2 separate regions of the Homo sapiens genome follow, and region 1 is linked to region 2. The links are contacts of gene promoters, found by promoter capture Hi-C in blood cells and fetal thymus (Javierre and others, 2016). All regions are on one chromosome and are shown on one strand. The core of a region is centred on a gene start or on the middle of the fragment in contact, and the rest is flanking DNA. Distances in the headings are between cores, read along the strand shown. Region 1 holds the start of SLC2A6 (solute carrier family 2 member 6). Region 2 holds the start of MED22 (mediator complex subunit 22).

Region 1 (5,800 bases), core at 2,304-4,803, 130 kb before region 2:
ACCTCCCATCCCCAGACCTATCAACAACCCACTTCTAAAGCCCATCGCCCTCCATGATCCCCTTAAAAGCCCCAGCCCAAAGCTCCTAGGGGAGATGGATTTGAGGATCTCCTCCCATCTCCTTGCTCAGAGCCCTGCAATCATTAAACTCTTCCCTGCTGCGAACCCTGCTGCACGGTGTACTGGTGTGTCGTGGTGTCACGGTGGAGCAGGCATGTGGATCTGCTGGTCTTGTAACAATGGGTGAGGAAACGGATTCCACCTTTTCTACCCTTACAGTTTGAAACAGCTTTGATGCCCATGACAGAAGATTCATTACAAATTCAAGCTCATCCACCCAGCCTTTAACATTAAAAGGCTGTGAAACAGGGCCGGGTGCAGTGGCTCATGCCTGTAATCCCAGCACTTTGGGAGGCCGAGGCGGGCGGATCACGAGGTCAGGAGATGGAGACCACCCTGGCTAACACGGTGAAACCCCGTCTCTACTAAAAATACAAAAAATTAGCTGGGCGTGGTGGCAGGCGCCTGTAGTCCCAGCTACTCAGGAGGCTGAGGCAGGAGAATGGCGTGAACCCAGGAGGTGGAGCTTGCAGTAAGCTGAGATGGCACCACTGCACTCCAGCCTGGGGGAAAGGGCGAGACTCATCTCAAAAAAAAAAAAAAAAGGCTGTTAAGCAGGGTTCTGTGCAAGAAGGCTCACACCGGCTCATTCTTTTAGCCAAAAACTGTGCTACATCCGTAAAACACTACACTACGCGGCTGCAAATAAGAACAAACCACTGAACATCAGCAAACCACTGATAAATTTCATAAACATGCTGAAAAAAGAAGGCAGACAAAAAAACAGTGCTTCACATAGGTTCTCTTTATAAGACCACTGTAATCTATCGTCACAGGAAGCAGATTAATAGTTTACTGGGGAGGCCGGGCGCGGTGGCTCATGCCTGTAATCCCAGCCCTTTGGGAGGCCGAGGCCGGCAGATCACGAGGTCAGGAGATCAAGACCATCCTGGCTAACATGGTGAAACCCCATCTCTACTAAAAATACAAAAAAATATTAGCCGGGCATGGTGGCGGGCACCTGTGGTCCCAGCTACTCAGGAGGCTGAGGCAGGAGAATGGCATGAACCTGGGAGGCGGAGCTTGCAGTGAGCCGAGATCGCACCACTGCACTCCAGCCTGGGGGACAGAGTGAAACTCCCTCTCAAAAAAAAAAATAGTTTACTGGGGAGCAGGGAAAGGAGGTTGACCTCAGAAAGGCACAAAGAAACCTTCTAGAAGGGTGGAAATGGGCTGGGCGTGATGACTCACGCCTGTAATCCCAGCACTTTGGGAGGCCAAGGCGGGAGGATCACCTGATGTTGGGAGTTTGAGACCAGCCTGGCCAACATGGTGAAACCCCATCTCTACCAAAAATGCAAAAACTACCCAGGTGTGGTGGCGGGCGCCTGTAATCCCAGCTACTCGGGAGGCTGAGGCAGGAGAATCGCTTGAACCCAGTGGTCGGAGGTTGCAGTGAGCCGAGATCGCACTACTGCACTCCAGCCTGGGCAACAGAGAGAGACTCTGTCTCAAAAAAAGATAAAAGAAAGAAAGAAAAGGTGGAAATGTTTTATATCTTGATTGGGGGTGTTTGGGGTTATACAATTGTCAAAACTCATCAACCTATATTTAAAATGGATTCATTTTACTGTATATAAATTATAGCTTAACAAAGTTGATTTTTCTTGTATTTTATTTTTTCAAGAAGGCTCTCCCTCTGTCACCCAGGCTGGAGTGCTGTGGTGTGATCACAGCTCACCGCAGCCTCAAACTCCTGGGCTCAAGCAATCTTCCCACCTCTGCCTTCCGAGTAGCTGGGGCCACAGGCACTTGCCATCACACCTGGACAACTTTTTTAGCTTTTTGTAGAGACAGGGTCACTTTGTTGCCCAGGCTGGTGTCAGACTCCTGGCATCAAGCAATTCTCCTACCTTGGCCTCCTAAATGCTGGGATTACAGGCACACACCACTGCACCTGGCCTAAAGTTGATTTTAAAAGAAAAAAAATACATTTTAAAAAAAGAGAAGGCCGGGTGCGGTGACTCACGCCTGTAATCCCAGCACTTTGTGAGGCTGAAGCGGAAGGATCACAAGGTCAGGAGTTCAAGACCAAGCTGGCCAACATGGTGAAACCCCGTCTCCACTAAAAATACAAAAATTAGCCGGGCGTGGTGGCACATGCCTGTAATCCCAGCTACTTGGGAGGCTGAGGCAGGAGAATCGCTTGAACTCGGGAGGTGGAAGTTGCAGTAAGCTGAGATCGTGCCACTGCACTCCAGCCTGGCCAACAGAGCGAGACTCCGTCTCAAAAAAAAAAAAAAAAATACACATATAGATATGTAAAAATACATACACATATATATGTATATACGTATATATATGGCCACGAGGACTGTGCAGCCTGATCACCATACCAGGGTGTGCCTGAGTCCAAAGCCTATGATCTTGATGGCAAGAAAACGGTGACGTAAAGGGGCTGCACAGTTTAATGGGGGCCCCAATAGCAAATATGCAAAATAGGCACATGAGGAAAAGACTGGAAGAGGCTAAAACGCCATCAAGGTCAGGCTGACGGGAGATGGATGTGATTTTATTGTTCTATTATGGTTGTATTTCAATCATAATAAAAGGGAATTCTAACTTTTAAAAATGCTTTACCATGTTAATAGCTAAAATGGGAAATGACCCAAATACTCAGCAACAAAGGCTCCGTTTAAAAGCGTGTGTGGCACGTCCATCCAACAGAGCAGGGCGTGATTCCGTCCTCTTCCCGAAAAGGCCCAAAGGGAGAGGTGGAACTGCTGTGGGATTTTTTGAGGACGGTCTTCCCGGGAATTTTCCATTTCTGCTTTTCTTATTTTTCAATGTTATCTTACTACCTGGGTTACGTGTCACGAGCTCAGGTTATTTCTACCACCAGAGCCTGGGGTGGAGGATACAGACCTCGCCCACTGGAGCTGCCCACAGCGCCTCGCCGGCCCCTCCTGCCTCCTTCGTCCCGCACATCCGCTGCTGCCCTGACACACCCCGATTCCCTGGTGCCAGGGAGAGCCAGGGCAGAGGTGGCCCTGAGACGCCACGCGACGGGGAGGGCTAGAGCGTAAGGAGGAGCGAGGTGCGCATTCGCTGTGACCCTGGCGCTCGGCTTCGCCTCTCTGGGCCTCGGTTTCCACCCCGCGGGAGCGAGTACGACAGGGGCTGCGCGCATTGCCGCAGTCACGCCTGCAAGAGCCGGGCCGGGTGAGCCGCTTCCGGCGCTCCGCGGGGGCCCCGGACGATCCAGCAGGGGCTCCGCCCTGGGACCCCCATCCTGTCTTGGGGCGTGACCTTCGGGGGCGCACGCGGTGCCGGCCGCGCCCGGGGAAGCCGGGTCCGCATCCGAGCATCAGGACAGCCTGCGGCCGCCCCATTGGCCGGCGTGTCTCTGCAGGGCCGTCCCACAGCCAATAGCGGCCAAGGGGCGGAGCCTGGCCGGTGCCCTCGGAGCTGCTGGCCCCGGGCGGCTGCTCCAGTCTGAGCGCCCTCCGCTCGCCCCGAGAGAGACCCGGCCATGCAGGAGCCGCTGCTGGGAGCCGAGGGCCCGGACTACGACACCTTCCCCGAGAAGCCGCCCCCGTCGCCAGGGGACAGGGCGCGGGTCGGGTGAGAGTCGCTAGGTTGGGGGCTGCGGGTGGGGCCTGGGGGTGGCCCTGGTTCCCTCCAGCCGGCGGCAGGCTCCCGCCCTGGGCCTCCCCTGACCTAGTCGCCACCGAGGGGCCATCTGGCTCCCTCCTGTCCCAGACACGCTACTCCTATTTAAGGAACTGGTCCCCCTAAGGGAAGGAACGATCCACGAGAGTACCGGGCCCAGCCCCCCACTGCCACAGACAGTGAGACTGAGGCCCCAGCGAGCAGGGGTTCTGCCTGAGGTCACACAGCAAGCCTCCAGCCGCCGCCCTGGGGGCAGAACCAGAGCCTCCTCTTCCGGAGAAAAGGCCCCAGCACCAGAGGCTCAGCCACTGCGGATGAGCTAACAATGGCCTGGGAATTTCCCAGGGGAGCTGGGGCTCAGGCCCTGGGAACGTGAATGGCCTTGGACCCAGGCCTCCCTAGCACTGCCCGCTGAGCCGGGCAGCCACTGGGTTCAGAAAAGGCAATGGTCCCTGGAGGAGGGACTCAGAGACCCTGGTCTTTTTGTCCGCCACCATCACCAGGACCCTGCAGAACAAAAGGGTGTTCCTGGCCACCTTCGCCGCAGTGCTCGGCAATTTCAGCTTTGGGTATGCCCTGGTCTACACATCCCCTGTCATCCCAGCCCTGGAGCGCTCCTTGGATCCTGACCTGCATCTGACCAAATCCCAGGCATCCTGGTTTGGGGTAAGGACCATCCTCTGGAGGAGGGTGGGTGCAGGAAGGAGGGACCTGCTGAGCCTTATCTCCAGCTAGGAACCTCCCAAATTCTCCACCTTGGGGGTCCCTCCAGGGCCCTGGTCCCCCCTCCCCCAGCCATCCAGGCCACTAGTGGGTGGGGTAAAGCTACAGGATTCCTCTGAAATGAGGAACTGAAAGCCAGTGGAGAGGGTGAGGGAAGGAGCAGGTGGGGAGGTGGCTGTCAGGGTCTATACTAGGTGGGGCTGAGGCTTCCCCGGGTCCCCACACCCACAGTTGGCTGGATGGGGGCAAGGGTATCAGGTGTCAGTGGGGAGAGGCACTGGCTGGGGCAAGGAGAGTCCGCAGGACAGATTGTGGGCTGATGGAGAGGAAGATCCCAGAGTCCCAGAGTCTAAAATTATAATCTTAATAGCCTCATATGTAGAGTTGTTAACATAGTAGTTAAGATAAAAATTCCCAAGGTTTACTGAGCACTTCCTATGTGCCAGGCATGTGTTGGGCACTGAACGTTCATTGATTCTCAGGGCCAACGCCACGAGGTAGAACTTGCGCTCTCCCCATAAGACAGCTGAAGAAACTGAGGTGCAGACAGGCTGGGCAATGTGCCCAGGTCCCACTACCAGTTAGCAGAGTCCAGAGGGGGTCCCAGTTGCTGCTGTACAGGGAACTTAAGAACCTCCAAATCTTAAAGCCCAGTACCTTCAAGTCACAGAATTCTCCTGTATTAAAATATTAGACATTTAAACATCAGGCTGGACAGAACCACTGTGGATATGTGGCGCAGCACCTCTTCCTTAGAGCAGAATTCCCCGTTTGGGCATCCCTAACAAATGGCTGTTCCTTGAAGACAGGAGGCTCCCTGTTTCAAGTGCTTGACTTGGCCAAGTGCTTGACCAGCTCCTGGGGTCGGCCTAGGGAAGAAGCTGTCCCTGGACTCTGATGAGATTGGGGTGCCAAGTGCCCAGACATATCTGCCCTGCACCCCCTTCCCCTGCAGTCCGTGTTCACCCTGGGAGCAGCGGCCGGAGGCCTGAGTGCCATGATCCTCAACGACCTCCTGGGCCGGAAGCTGAGCATCATGTTCTCAGCTGTGCCGTCGGCGGCCGGCTATGCGCTCATGGCGGGTGCGCACGGCCTCTGGATGCTGCTGCTCGGAAGGACGCTGACGGGCTTCGCCGGGGGGCTCACAGCTGCCTGCATCCCGGTAAGGCCAGGCCTTCCCACCCAGGCGCCCCAATGCCTCTGTATTGGTGCTGAGCCTCCATCTGACTAAGGCCTCCCAGCCTCCATGCCTTCTGGGCAATGAGAATTGTTTGCCTTCCCTGCGGATGCCCAGGGCGCCTCAGCTCACCCCCAGCAGGGCAGCTAATTTGGGGGAAATTGTCTC
Region 2 (5,513 bases), core at 479-2,978:
CTTAACACTTAATAACAAATGCTGGACTGCGGTCCTGCTATATGACTATAATTTAATGACAACTGCAGTTCAAGAAGCCTAAGACCATCCCCCTCATGTTCTGGATGAAATAAGGAATCCTTGCCTGAGAAACTCCTTTCCACGCCACAGAACCTCACCTGTTTGGCGGTCCAGGGCCTGGGTGAACTGGTTAATCGCAGGAGGCACTTTCAGCCGCTTATAGAGGATGGCTCTCTGCCGCTGCAACCTGATATAGCGGGGCCATTTCACAAAGCGGGTGAGGTCTCTTTTGGGCTGGATGTCCTGTCCTGAGAAGTAAAGGGTGACACCGAGTGAGGCTCAAATTCCATGTCAAGTTCATGTCTGGGGCCACTAGGAAGGGTGTTGGTGCATCAGCGATCTTGGTGGTTTAAAATGTCATCACCATCTCTCAGATAGCAAATATTCTTTTACATCATCTGCACACAAACACCTGAGAACAAAGAGCACGATGCTTTTCCTCATCTAACAAGAAGCCAAGGTGCCACGAAGTACAGCAGAATTGCAGTCCTAGTACCTCGCTGCGACACTGCTACTGTACTTGTTTCCAGATGGCTAAGCTGAATTCAAGGCCACTACCATATTGAGCTGAATGCTCGCTCAGCAACTCCCAATGAAAGCAAGAAGCATGTATCATTGCCCCCGTCTCTAAGAGACACAAATTAAGGACTGCGACCACTTTACACCCACTAAAACCTACAAGATACAACACAACCCAATTACCACCTTCCCTTGAGAAAAACATAGACCGTTTTCATTCTGCCGTTTGTTACTTACCAATGCCAAAATTCTTAGGCCTTTTCTCAAACAGGGGATTCACCACTTTCTTAGCCTCCTGCTTCTTCACGACAGCTGGGGCCGGAGCCACCTTCTTTCCCTTGGCCTTCTTTCCTTTCGGCTGGGCAGAAAGAAAACGTCAGTTAAACCGCCGCCTCCACTCGCTTCGTCGGGGGTAGGGCTCAGGCTGGCTCCTCCAAAACAAGGGACGCTGACAGCACCTGCCTGAACTAAGCTGGCGAGCAGCTTTCTGCAACCCCCCAGCACCACCCCTCGACAGGAGCATCTCACATTCAGCCGCACAAGCATGCAGCCCCGGGAACCCCGAGTGGCCAGAGCAAGGCTAAGCCCGAGACCACGCTCTCTTCGCGTCGCCCACCCAGGAGACACCCCGGACTCATGACTCCTCTGAGTCGCGGCCCCACAGGCTCTAGAAGCAACAGGGGCGGGCTCAGAACTCGTCGCTCACAAGGCCTCTGGAGCGGCCCCCAGCAAGCCCGAGAGACGCTAGGGCTCCGAGCCCCGCACTGCGGTGCTCCAGGCCTGCGACACCCAGCCCTGCGACACCGGGAACAACGCATTCCGCTCTCGGCCGCCCGGGGCTCTAGTCCATCTCAATGTCTCCGTGCCACACCAAGTGGGGCTCTAATCCACCTCGGTGTCTCCGTGCCACACCGAGTGGGGCTCTCCTAGCGCCAGGAGGAGCAGGAGGCCCTCCGAGGCCGCGCCTGGAGGAGGATGGCAGCGGATACAGCCGGAACCTGGCTATAGTGCCACGGAACTACAGCTCACTCACCATCTTGGGCGGCGGGAGGAGAGAGAAAGGAAAGGGAATTGTGGGTAATATGTATGCGGCCTCGGAGATCGCGAGAGTTGATACCGGCACGGGATTTCGGATTTAAAGCAACAGCATTCCTATAAAGCTAAAAATCGAGGCGGGGCCGAGAGGCTGCGGCGGCTGACTAGGTTTTCGGACCGCGGCGCGGCGGGGAAGAGAGACTGCGGCGGGAGGGCCAGGCCGTGGGAGAGACGCGGGAAAGTGCGGGTCGCAGAGGCACTTGACCACCCCGCCCTAGGCCGACCCGGCGGACGCGGCGTCTGGTGTGCGGGCGCTGGGGCGGGTATGAGGGTGTGGTGGGGGGTGGGGATGGAGGGGGGGTGGGTGTGTGGGCGGGAGTGGGGGTGGGTGGGTGCGTAGGCGCTGGGGTCGGAGATCCCCTTTCCTGCGTGTGACTTATTTCCCACACCCCGCCAAAAATGGGCACAAACAATGCGAGTGCGTCCAGGAGTCCGCTCGGTCGTGCGCCAGACTCCGAACCTAGGGGGCCCCGGGCCCTCCCTGAGCACCGCGCGCAAAGGCCCGGCCCCAGGGCCAGGCAACTCCAGCGCCGAGGCCGTCCAGTGCGGCTGGAGGGCAGAGGCCGAGAGGCGCGGCGCGGAACTTGAGCCCCTTGTCCCGGCGCACCGGGGAACCATGAGGGATGTTAAGCGAGGGAGTGGAATTACCCCCCTTTTTTTTTTCTTTTGGAGACGTAGTCTCCCCCTGTCGCCCAGGCTGGAGTGCAGTGGCGCGATCTCGGCTCACTGCGACCTGTGCTTCCCGGGTTCAAGCGATTCTCCTGCCTCAGCCTCCCGAGTAGCTGGGATTACAGGCGCCTGCCATCACGCCCGGCTAATTTTTGTATTTTTAGTAGAGTTGGGGTTTCACCATGTTGGTCAGGCTAGTCTCAAACTCCTGACCTCAGGTGATCCCTGCCTCGGCCTCCCAAAGTGCTGGGATTACAGGCGTGAGCCACCGCGCCCGGTTGGAATGACCACTTTTTAGGACCTCTTCCCTGCCGCGCAGAGACTGGAGGGAGCGGGGCCCGCAGTGCAGGGATGAGGTCTGGAGCGGGGCAGCCTGAGTGGGAGTGGAAGGAAAGCGTGGATGTAGGCGGTGCAGAGGGGTCGAATTGGAAGGACTCTTCGGATGGGAGGGCGTGGCGAAGGTGGCGGCGGGCTAAGAAGTTAAGCCAAGGGCTGGGGACGGGGAGCTGGTGTTGAGTTTGCAGGGCTCCCTGGGACACGCTGTGGGCCTGGACGTGAAGTCTGGACTGGAGCCCTGGACAGGGCTTGGAGGGCTGGCCAGGAGTTCCAGGATGAGCTTGCTCTGGCAAAGGCGGGGCCAGTCCTGGCACCCCCTGCGGTGTCTGCTGATGGAATGAGTTCATCTGTGTTTCAGTGATTGACTTTATTTGGCAGAAAGGGAATCCCCAGAAATCTGCGTGTTCTGCTAAGGTTGGGGCATAGAGGGTGGCTGGGGTAGACTCTGCCTGCACTCAGAGGTCTGTGCTGCACTCTAGGTCCCAGGTCTCCCCGCTGCGCTGCTTGAGGCTCGGCCATGGCCCAGCAGAGAGCCCTGCCCCAGAGCAAGGAGACGCTGCTGCAGTCCTACAACAAGCGGCTGAAGGACGACATTAAGTCCATCATGGACAACTTCACCGAGATCATCAAGACCGCCAAGGTGGGGGTGGGGTGGCCCACCAAGGGGAGCAGAGTCTGAGAAGGGGTGGAGACAGGAGAGGCCAGGGGCTGAGCAGCGCGAGTGAATAGTGTTCTAGGCAGGAAGCACCCAGTGCACAGGGAGCTGGTCAGTAGATAAGCAAACCAAATAATGGCACGTCCAGCCCTTACTAACAGTATGGATTTGGATGGAGATTTCACTTTTTAGTGCCTCAGTTTCTCCTGCATGGTGGGGTCCTTGTGATGACTGGTGAGTTTATCTGTGTAAAACAGTTACCTCGGGGCCTGGCACACAGCCAATGAGCAGGAGAAAAGCAGACTGAGGGGAGAAGTGGGGGGGGGCCTCCAGGCAGGTGGAGCGGTCAGCACTGGGGCCTGCAAGCCTGCTGACCACTGCAGCTACAGCTGCATCAGATTGGGCTGGATCCCTCCTGGCTGCTGCAGACCTGGCAGGCTCCATAAGCGATGATGATGAGGATGGAAGCTAGCATGTACTTAGTGCTTGCCATGTATCAAGCCACGTTGTGAGGTTATCTGTGCCTGTTCTGCTGAATCTTCATGAGGACTCTGTGAGGTGGGCACTGTTGTCCTCTTCATTTCAGGAGGAAACCCAGGCCCAGGAGACTTAGTGACTTGCCCAAGGTCACTCAGCTCACAACTGGCTGAGCCAGGATTTGAACCCACGAAGTCTGGGTCTTAACCACTGAGGGTACCTGACACCCACCCCGAACTGAGCCTTTGCAAGGCCTGCCGGGAAGCCCCATCCAGCCTCGCTTGGCCACCTATACACCAGGGGTGGCAGGCCAGGCTTCTGTGAAACTGGCATGGGTTAATGGTGGTCAAGTGCATGACACAGCCTGGCACCTGGGAAGTGATCAGGAAATGGTCGCGAAAAAAAACTTAAATCATCCCTTCACTCATCCAACAGTTTACCAAATGCCAAGCAAGTGACAACGGTTCCTACCAAACAGGGCTCCCACAGCCCAAAAAGACCGGGCCAAGATAAGCCCCCATCCCTGCACCTAGTACAGCAAGCAGCGTGGGTTGCCTCTATTTGTCTTGAGCAAAGGTGCATGTTGTCTCCCATGGCCAGAACAAGAGAGGGTGGAATTGAACCTTGTCAGAGGTCTGGCTGACAGCGCTTAGGTCTGTAGATGGCACCACAGACAGGTTGTGGCCAGTGTGGACATCCTGGGTAGATGACAGTTACCGTAAGCTGGGCTGGGCCGGGCCAGGGGTGGGGATGCCTTGGCTGGGTTGATTTCTAGGTTTTCTTGTTTTCCCCCAGATTGAGGACGAGACGCAGGTGTCACGGGCCACTCAGGGTGAACAGGACAATTACGAGATGCATGTGCGAGCCGCCAACATCGTGAGTGGCCAGGGTGGAGGGCACGGCCTGGGCTCCAAGAGCATCAGTCCCCTCAGGTTTCCTGGGTGGAGTGGAGGGGGCTCTGGGGCTGGTCTGGTCTTCTTCCCCCGAGAAGGAGCAGAAGGAGGCAAATGTAGAGATGCTTTGGTTTCACCACTCGGCAGCTTTAAAGAATGAGGTGGGGGCAAATCATTTCTCAGGAGACTGTCCTCACGTGGGGCACTTGGAGGAGGGCTGGGCAGAGAGCCACCCATGCCCGTCCTGTAGCCGTGCAGTGGCCAGAAAGAGGGTAGCCCTTCCTGCTAACTCAGGAGTTCCTAAGGTCAGTTGTGAGTGAAAAGACAAACAGCCGAATGGAACTGTAGGCGCCATTGGATTCCTTCGGATCACAGGAGAAACACAGCAAGCAGATAATTCCGCAGGTGCACGTCCAGGGCTCAAAATGCATGGAAAAAGGTCCCACAGGAGCTCTGCCCAGCTGGCAGCCATGTTAATCCTACCCCGGGGCAGGAGGCAAAATGGGATCGCAGTTTTATCTGTGGGGTTTGAGTTTTTCATGAGCAGAATGTACACCTGCATAATTGGACTGGAGGCCAGTCCTGCAGGAGTGGAAGCCAGAGGCTGACGAGAGGGGAGGGCCTGCCCTGCAGAACTGACATCCCAGTTTTCTCACTTAATTCTCACACATGAACCTGTGGAGGTCAGGGGTAGAGTCCCACTTTGCAGATGAGGAAGCTGAGGCTCCTAGAGAGGCCATCCCTTGCCCAGCATCAGCTACTTGTAGGCAAGGCCGCTGTCCCCCCTCACCCTGTGCCCGCCCTGGTTC

The links. Contacts are between HindIII fragments. The CHiCAGO score rates a contact against its expected background, and 5 or more counts as called.
Region 1: the fragment with the promoter of SLC2A6 here is called in contact with the fragment with the promoter of MED22 in region 2 in 3 of 17 cell types (endothelial precursors, M1 macrophages and total B cells); the score reaches 7.6 in endothelial precursors.

What each region holds. Positions count from the first base shown.
Region 1 is chr9:133,476,852-133,482,651 of GRCh38, reverse strand. It overlaps SLC2A6 (solute carrier family 2 member 6), which reads left to right and starts at 3,553. Exons shown (of 10, transcript NM_017585.4): 1 at 3,553-3,684; 2 at 4,236-4,398; 3 at 5,411-5,617. The coding sequence starts at 3,593. RefSeq lists enhancers at 3,042-3,543, 3,964-4,023 and a silencer at 3,154-3,803. The HindIII fragment of the contact is 7,664 bases long and covers 1-5,800 here.
Region 2 is chr9:133,344,346-133,349,858 of GRCh38, reverse strand. MED22 (mediator complex subunit 22) reads left to right here and starts at 1,728. Exons shown (of 5, transcript NM_133640.5): 1 at 1,728-1,937; 2 at 3,159-3,319; 3 at 4,607-4,687. The coding sequence starts at 3,197. It overlaps RPL7A (ribosomal protein L7a), which reads right to left and starts at 1,641. Exons shown (of 8, transcript NM_000972.3): 1 at 1,613-1,641; 2 at 817-937; 3 at 159-308. The coding sequence starts at 1,615. SNORD24 (small nucleolar RNA, C/D box 24) reads right to left here and starts at 463; the gene lies at 389-463. RefSeq lists enhancers at 1,220-1,689, 1,551-1,845, 3,150-3,651, 3,652-4,155. The HindIII fragment of the contact is 16,795 bases long and covers 1-5,513 here.